3 separate regions of the Homo sapiens genome follow, and all the other regions are linked to region 2. Evidence: promoter capture Hi-C in 16 types of primary human blood cells and fetal thymus (Javierre and others, 2016). All regions are on one chromosome and are shown on one strand. Each heading gives the region's core, a stretch centred on a gene start or on the middle of the fragment in contact. The rest is flanking DNA. Distances are from core to core; before and after follow the strand shown. Region 1 overlaps CR1 (complement C3b/C4b receptor 1 (Knops blood group)). Region 2 holds the start of MAPKAPK2 (MAPK activated protein kinase 2). Region 3 holds the start of CR1L (complement C3b/C4b receptor 1 like).

The links. Contacts are between HindIII fragments. The CHiCAGO score rates a contact against its expected background, and 5 or more counts as called.
Region 1: a fragment that was not itself captured here is called in contact with the fragment with the promoter of MAPKAPK2 in region 2 in 2 of 17 cell types (total B cells and fetal thymus); the score reaches 6.1 in total B cells.
Region 3: the fragment with the promoter of CR1L here is called in contact with the fragment with the promoter of MAPKAPK2 in region 2 in 8 of 17 cell types (erythroblasts, naive CD8 T cells, naive CD4 T cells and 5 more); the score reaches 9.1 in erythroblasts.

What each region holds. Positions count from the first base shown.
Region 1 is chr1:207,498,433-207,501,132 of GRCh38, forward strand. All of the region lies in intron 1 of CR1 (complement C3b/C4b receptor 1 (Knops blood group)), which reads left to right. Among named protein-coding and RNA genes, the nearest start is that of CR1, 3.6 kb to the left of the region's middle. RefSeq lists an enhancer at 1,128-1,187. The HindIII fragment of the contact is 209 bases long and covers 1,217-1,425 here.
Region 2 is chr1:206,683,602-206,686,512 of GRCh38, forward strand. MAPKAPK2 (MAPK activated protein kinase 2) reads left to right here and starts at 1,304. Exons shown (of 10, transcript NM_032960.4): 1 at 1,304-1,907. The coding sequence starts at 1,629. LOC124904495 (a long non-coding RNA gene) reads right to left here and starts at 1,205. Exons shown (of 3, transcript XR_007066833.1): 1 at 140-1,205. RefSeq lists silencers at 1,280-1,459, 1,920-1,969, 1,980-2,069, 2,480-2,569. The HindIII fragment of the contact is 16,303 bases long and covers 1-2,911 here.
Region 3 is chr1:207,643,770-207,646,471 of GRCh38, forward strand. CR1L (complement C3b/C4b receptor 1 like) reads left to right here and starts at 1,364. Exons shown (of 12, transcript NM_175710.2): 1 at 1,364-1,561. The coding sequence starts at 1,465. It also overlaps the pseudogene CD46P1. RefSeq lists a silencer at 1,164-1,333 and an enhancer at 1,394-1,473. The HindIII fragment of the contact is 2,525 bases long and covers 1-1,753 here.

The DNA.
Region 1 (2,700 bases), core at 71-2,570, 810 kb after region 2:
AAAGTGGTATAGTGCTATTTGAAAGAGGACTTAGATTAGCTGCAAATAGATATTGCAAATGTAGGACAACCCCTGAAAAATGTGAAAAAAAGAACTATAATTTATATGTTAATAAGTAAGAGAGAATTGCATCATATAAAATGCTCAGTTAAAACAATAAAGATGGCTGGGGACAGTGGCTCATGCCCATAATCCCAGCACTTTGGGAGGCTGAGGTGGGTGGATCACCTCAAGTCAGGAGTTCAAGACCAGCCTGGCCAACATAGTGAAACCCTGTCTCTACAAAAACACAAAAATTACCAGGGCATGATGGTGGGTGCCTGTAGTCCCAGCTACTCGGGAGGCTGAGGCATGAGAATCGCTTGAACCTGGGAGGCGGAGGTTGCAGTGAGTCGAGATCGTGCCATTGCACTCCAGCCTGGGTGACAGAGCGCAACTCCAAATCAAAAAAAAAAAAAAAAGAAACAAACAAACAAAACAAAAAACAATAAAGGGCAGGAAAAGAATGGAAGACAAAAAATAGAAACAGAGAACAAGAGAAAAAAAGCAACAAATAAAAACCAGTAACAAAACTAAAGCAACTATATCAACAATCATTTTGAGTGTCAATGATCGAAATGCACCATTTGAAACAGATCATCAGAGTGGATCAAGAAACAAGACCCAACTATATACTGTGTACAACAAGACCGTTTTAAATATAGACAATATATATGAAAAGTAAATGGATAAAGATATACCATGCTAATGCTAGTCACAGAAAGCAGGAATAGCTGTGTTAATTTCAAACACAGCAGACTTCAGACCAAGAAAAATTATTAGGGATAAAGAGGGGCATCATATAATGATAAAGGGGCCAATTATCCAAGAAGACGTAACAATATCCCATATGTATGCACCTGATGGAGAGACAAAATACGTGAGGCAAAACCCATAGAACTGCAAGGAGAAATAGATGGATTTACTATCATAGTTGGAGACTTCTATGATATCTTTCTGATATCAGAAAAGGTGCTGAAGTCTCCTTATCAGAAATGGGCAGATTCAGCAGGCAGAAAATCCGTAAGGACATACTTGAATTCAACAGCACCATCAATCCACTTGGGTATAATTGACATATATAGATGACTTCATCCACAACAGCAGAGCACATATTCTCCCGCTTACATTCATGGGGATAGACCACATTCTGAGCCATAAAATAGTACACGAATTAAGCTTTACCAGGCAGTGTTTAATATAGGGTGGACTCTGGCGCCCTCACGTGGTCCTCATATAGGATCTGGTTTGGTTATCCCTGCTAGGTAAAGGTGCAAGATAGAAGGGAAGTTCCAATTTGCTTTCTGTGCTTTGTGGTGTATTTTGGTTTACATATGCTCAGATGAGTGGATGTGTGATTTATATTATCTATTTTAATCTAAAATAAGCTTCACATTTGGACAGGTAACATCAAAAGTGTCCTACACAGAAATGCTGGGTGAAGATCCCAGTAATAAAACCAACTCCAGAAAACAAGAAAATGGTAGAGTTGACAATCCCTCTCACCCTCTCCGCAAAGACACATGTATACACATTTTTTGTCAGAGGCATTAAGTAGAAGAAATGCTGTCAGTCTAATCACAACTGATCACAACTCGATGAAACCAAAAAACCTAGAAAGTATCATGAAGACTGTCGAAATAAGCTTTACATTCACTATTGTGAACAGAGAGACTCAATGTGACTGTTTTTTGTCCCGTTAGATGTTAGCTAATGATTGTGCTAAGTCATGATGATTAACAAAGCATTTAAAATATTTATTTTATCTGTGTTACATTTCAAAAATTTATATTGAGGCATATAATTTATGTTCGTGTACATATATAATTTATAAATTTATATATTTGAAAGGGCATGCTCTTTTTTTAAACTGATAGAGGTGCCTAAGCAAAGCAAGTGCAAATCTATTCCTTAAAGGGTAAGTATGCAGAATGGAAAGCAGAGTGTTCTTTGGGTTGACAGCTCATATTGCAACAGACATGAAAGTGATGATGTGTTAATTGTGCATATAGCACAGAATACATCAACTTGCTTTGAATGGAATATCTGAACCAGGAGAATGTGAAAGTGGGCTGAGTCATACAAGACAAAACCCGAAATGAGATAACAATACATACCCACTAGAATGACTAAAATGAAAAAGATTGACCGAGCCAAGTGTTGGCGATAAGGTGGAGTAACTGGAATTATAATATACTGCTATTTGGCAGGTAAAATTATAACATTAACTTTAGAAAATAGTTCAACAGATTCTTAAAACCTTAGACACACACTCAACATTTTACTCTTAGGTTTTTACCCAAGAGAAATGAAATCATATGTCCACACAAAGACTTGTACATGAATTTTCATAGCAGTTTTGTTTGTAATAGCCAACACGTGGAAACAATCCAAATGTCCCTCAACAAGTAAATGGATAAACTAAATTAAGATATATTTATGCAATTGAATATTACCCAGCAACTAAAGGAAACAATTTGTATACATGCAGCAACCTAGATGGATCTCTAATTATGCTGTGTGAAGGCTAAACCATAAAAAAAAACCTGAGTGATTTCCTTTATACAATAGGATATAAATGAAGTGATTTAGGTTATATGAAATTTTAGAAAGTCAAATCAATCTGTAGTAAGAGAAAACCACCTGAGTTATTTCCTTTAT
Region 2 (2,911 bases), core at 54-2,553:
AGCCCTACCTGCCCCAGGAAAGGACAGTGTTGGGAGGGTAACTCCCACCCCTCACTCCTCCCCCTCATTCCTGCCTCCACAAGCATCTTCTGGGAAAGGTGAATGAGGGAAGAGACATTTGCACTTGTCCCTTACCTACCTAAGTTCTATCCCCAGTGGCCACTTCTGGGGGTGTTGTCTTCTCTCTGGAGTTTTGGGGGACCTATTAGGGGGCATGTGTGGCCATAGGTCAAGCCTCATTCTCTAACTGGCCTTACCAAGACTTAAGCTGAGGTTTTGTGTTCACCTGTCTGGGTTGCTTGCCATTTCTCAAATGTTCTGCCAGTCAGAGGTGGGAGGAGGTCGGCAGGAATGTACTTGGTCATCTCGAACCCCATCAGAATGTGTGTGGAGGCCTCCTGGCAGCTTCTATGCAGGGTCCAGCTAGATCCCTGGGCTTTTCCTGAGATACACGGGGCTAACCCACTTCTTACGGATTAATTTTTCCACATCGGAAATCAGAAGCCATTCCCCAGGGCCTCCCCTTCAGTTTCATTATCTCCTTTGACTCTGCCCACAACCTTTGAAAAGGTCTCGCTGTTCTTCCCACGGAGAGAGAGGTGCAAGGCTTGCTCAGCCTCACACAGCCAATCCGTGGCAAAGGATGGCGGGAATTCAGGTGGCCCCAATCTCAACCCATCCTCTTCCCACCCTGTATCCTTTTTAGTTTATTTACAGGAAAACATGTTCAAAGGTATAATTACTAAAGTGCTCCTGGTTACACAATAATACGTCTTTACTGAAAAACAATAAATTAATGAGAAAAGAGATGCAAAAAACCTCAGAGGAAAATGTTGAAGTTAGGGAAATATTTAATACGCCCGCCTTTGGCTCACACCTTTTCCTGGGATGAATGACCCCTGTGATTCCAGCTCCCCCCCACCCCCACGAGGTCTCATCTAGCTGGATACCTACAAGCCATCCCTGTCCTTGGAAATACACCCCTCTCCCAATTCGCTGCCGCTAAGAAGCCCAGACAATTGGAGAGGAGTGGATTTTCCATCTGAATTATGCAGCTCCTTTGACACGCCTCCCCTCTCCCTTTGCATAGCCTTGGTTAAGAACTAGCATTTCTTCGTCCCCTCTCCCTGTCCCCTCTCACTGTCCGCGAGGCAGCAGCCCCCAGCCTACTCCGCGATCCTCCCAGCTCCCGGCACCGCGCGTCCTCCCCTTTAAGGCCCGCCCCTCCCCCCACGCCACGCCTCCCCAGGCCCCGCCCCCCGCCCCTCCCCTTTAAGGACCGGCCCCGGACGCAGACGAGGCTGTGACGCGGCCGCCGGCCCGGGGCTGGGTACATTGTCGCGCGGCCGCTTCCCCCCGGCCGGGCCCCCGCCGCCCCGCGGTCCCCAGAGCGCCAGGCCCCCGGGGGGAGGGAGGGAGGGCGCCGGGCCGGTGGGAGCCAGCGGCGCGCGGTGGGACCCACGGAGCCCCGCGACCCGCCGAGCCTGGAGCCGGGCCGGGTCGGGGAAGCCGGCTCCAGCCCGGAGCGAACTTCGCAGCCCGTCGGGGGGCGGCGGGGAGGGGGCCCGGAGCCGGAGGAGGGGGCGGCCGCGGGCACCCCCGCCTGTGCCCCGGCGTCCCCGGGCACCATGCTGTCCAACTCCCAGGGCCAGAGCCCGCCGGTGCCGTTCCCCGCCCCGGCCCCGCCGCCGCAGCCCCCCACCCCTGCCCTGCCGCACCCCCCGGCGCAGCCGCCGCCGCCGCCCCCGCAGCAGTTCCCGCAGTTCCACGTCAAGTCCGGCCTGCAGATCAAGAAGAACGCCATCATCGATGACTACAAGGTCACCAGCCAGGTCCTGGGGCTGGGCATCAACGGCAAAGTTTTGCAGATCTTCAACAAGAGGACCCAGGAGAAATTCGCCCTCAAAGTAGGTCTGGGGCCCGGGGAGGGGAGGCGGGGCCGGTCCCGGGCCCTGGAGCTCCACGGCGTCGGGTGCCCGTCCCGGCCTGGGTCGCGGCGCGGGGCGGAGGGGTGGCCGCGGCGGGGCGGGGCGGGGCGGCCGGGCCGGCGGTGCCGAGTGCGGCGCGGGCGGCGGGTCCCAGCGCCCTCGCCTCCCTGACCGCTTCCGGCCGCTCCCGGGCGGGAGCCCTGGGACCCGCTCCTGGGGACTCAGGGGACCCTGCCATTTTGGGGTTTGAGCGGGATCCAGCCGAGTCAGAACGGTTGGCTTCGGGACTTCTGCTAATTTCACTCCATCTCAAGGAAGTGATTTTGGGGTTGGTGGTTCCCCGTCCTCTCCTCCCTCCTTTTTCTCTCTCTGCGGGCACAAAAGGCCCATTACTCATTGAGCCGGTTGGTCGGTTGGTTTGGAGAAGTCGGATCGCAGAGGTTTATTTAGCCTCGCTCCTTATTTGGGAGCCGGAATGTGTGATTTCACTTCCCCGAGCCTCGCGAGGGCAGCCGGGCCGCCTTGGGGCGCGCCGGGCAGGAGGTGTGCGGCGGGAGGGTCCTGGGTGTCCCCCGGCTGCGGGGGCGGGATTATTTGGATCCCGGAGCTGGCCCCCTCAGCTGGCCCCCTCCCACGCCCGCGCGGGGCGGCTCCGGGGAGAGGCCGGCGGTGTCCGCGGCCCGGCTGATCATTGTGAACAGAGTCTGTAACCCGCGGCCGGGCCCGTGCTGATTCCGCCTCCTAGAGAGGGCCACTTGCTGTCCTGGACTCGCGCCGTGATGGGCAGTCTGAGGAAACATTATCCTTGAGCCGGGGGAGCCCATCCCTTTTCTTTCTTTAAGGGGTGTGGTGGTGGGGAGAATAAGGATTCAAGTGAGAATATCGACTTCAGAAGTTAAACACAATGGACTGGGAGGTCTCATGAGATGGGTGGGTCCGCAGTGAAGTGTGAGCCGGTCTTGCAGGGTCACCAACAAGGTTTT
Region 3 (2,702 bases), core at 114-2,613, 960 kb after region 2:
TTGATTTTTAAAATACATTTTCTTTACCTTATTCTAAATGTAACATAGGGTCAACATAGAAAAAGAAAACTGAAAAGCACAAGGAAAGTGAAATATCTATAATCTTAACCATTGTTAATTTTGTTGTGTTCCAAATTAGTGTATGTATATATATATATATATATATAGCATTTTTGTTTTAATAAAAGGACTGCCAAAATGCACATGCCAATTTGGACTCTGCTTTTTCCACTTACAATGATATCATAGTTTCTCACATTTGGTATTCTTTTGCAATACTTGCTGCATAGAATTCCATCACACAAAGGTAACTGCCTCCTTATTACTTTTGCTAGACACTTAGGGTTTACATTTTTTACAAAAATTATAAATCTTTGATCACAGCTCTGATGATTTCTCTGGGAACTGAGAGCCTAACACAAGTCATTTCCACTTTAAGACTTTTAACATTCTGAAAAGTTATGTTACAAACAGAGTGCTGGTCCCCCTGCAACATGTTCACTCACATTGGCTGACGTTTTAATTCTTTGCCAATCTGAGGGGAAGAGATGTCAACTTTTTTTGTTTGCTCTTTTAATGCCAGTCATGTTCCCTTTTTTTTTCCCCCTTTTACCAGTCATACTGGCTTACTCAGAACCCTACAAATCAATCCTGCTCATTCTTAATTTTCCAACATTGTTCCTGAGATTGTTTCACCAGAAAAGTTCTCCCCCTTATCCACTTCGCCTAACAATTTCTACCCATCCCAATCCTCCTGCATTTATTGCTTCCAGGAATTTGGCACTTAGGACACCCTTGTCCTTACATTGTTCATGCATGTATATTTCGTCTTCAATAAAACATTTAGTTGCTCAAGGGCAAGGGTCCCATAGAGTCTCAATATGCTAACGGCCTGGTGTTGCTTAATAATTTAGATTCTGACGGGTCCTCTCCAGGGAGGGGAGCAAAGGGCAAATTATCTTAGGGGCTGGGAGTGCAGAAGCCAAACCTTTGAGACTGTGAAAAGAAGACGGCGCCGAGACGATTCAGTAGCAGGCATTCAAGCAAGAAAAACTCAAATATTGTTCCCAATAATGCCTGACTAATGCCAAATACCAAGTAAGGGCCCAGGCAGTCCTGACAGCCTGCAGTGCCCCAGGATAAAACTAACCCTGAGGGGTGCTAGCCCACGATAACCCCCTGCCAGGGCTCTGGACACGCCCTGTCTCCTCGAAGGCCAACGGGCTGCCCCTGCGCGCCGAGGCCCCGCCCCGCGGCCCGCCGATTGGCCCCAGCCGCCCCGGCGCTAAGACTCAATTTCACACTACGCGCCCAGGCCACGCCCACCTGTCATGCGGCCCTGGAAACTGTGAGTTTGGGGATTGTTGTGTCCACTAACCGGACTCAGAAGGGACTTCCCTGCTCGGCTGGCTTTCGGTTTCTCTGCTCACCTCCGGATAAATCACGGGGTCTCCCGCGCCGCTCATGGCGCCTCCCGTCCGTCTCGAGCGTCCCTTTCCTTCCCGGCGCTTTCCTGGGTTGCTTCTGGCGGCCCTGGTGTTGCTGCTGTCCTCCTTCTCCGGTAGGACCCCGGGGTGGATTCGCGCGTCCGCGGCGAGGCTAGAGCTCTGCTCAGTCAGTCGGGCAGGAGGCGCGGGGCGAAGCTCACTGCACGTCGTGCCTGCTTGGGATAGAGAGCGAGGCCAGGGTTCTCCGAGGGGTGCCGTGCTCAGATCCCGGGGGTATGTGGCGGGGGATGCGGGAACCACGCAGAAGCTTGTTTGGTGGCATCGTGTGCGCGGCCGACATTTACGCAGGATCTGGCTGCGTTCCCAAAAGAAGCGTGAATCGTGTTTTCGGGATTGAGCCCAGTCAGCAAGGGGAGGGCTTACTGGGCGCCCCAGGTGAGGGCTTGCTCTGGAGTGCACAGGTGCGTGGGATTGTTGCTAGAGCCCGTGCTGTGCCCGTGGTGAGAGTTTGCCCTGTGTTCCCTTGGTGCCTTGGTGAGTAGGGTGTTCATTAGGGCTTGGACAGTACCCGCGGTAAGGGTTGCAGTGCGTCTGCTGTGCCCCATGGGCTGGGCTGGCCTGGGCTGGGCTGGGCGAGCAGGGGCCTGGCCAGGTGTTGCTGGGAGCGTGCTGTGCGCAAGTGGCCTGTGTGCGGAGTTCACTGTGGGCAAGACAGCTCACTGTTTGCTTTGAGTGGAGCGAGCGCGGACTCTGCGGCTAGGGAGGGCATGTTGAGTGAGAGCAGGCTCTCAGTGCCTGGGGTTAGAGAGGTGGTAAGGGCGCACCATGCTTTTAGTGCCTTCTGTGAACAGTGTCCGTGTTGCCTGAGATCGTATTGGTCTTGAATTTTAAGTGGCTGCTTTTTTGGGGGGTGGGTGGGCCATCGAGTCATCTTCCTGTTCCCAACCAATATAGACAGTATCTGATTCCATTGCCTAGTGGCTTTTTGACATTGTTTTCCTTCTTTTCATTAGTTTGAGTCATATTTGAGAGATGTGAAGCAACCTAAAAAACACTGGTAGCCAAACCTAGTGAGAAATTAGTATCCTAACAAAGGAAGGCAGATAATGTTAATCTTGTTTTCCCCTACAGCTCATAAACTGAAGCTTAAGGCCTATCCCACTGTTTTGTATTTCATTGAATGGAATCAATATTTTTAAAAATGCATGCTAGGCCAGGCCCAGTTGCTCACACCTGTGATCCCAGCACTTTGGG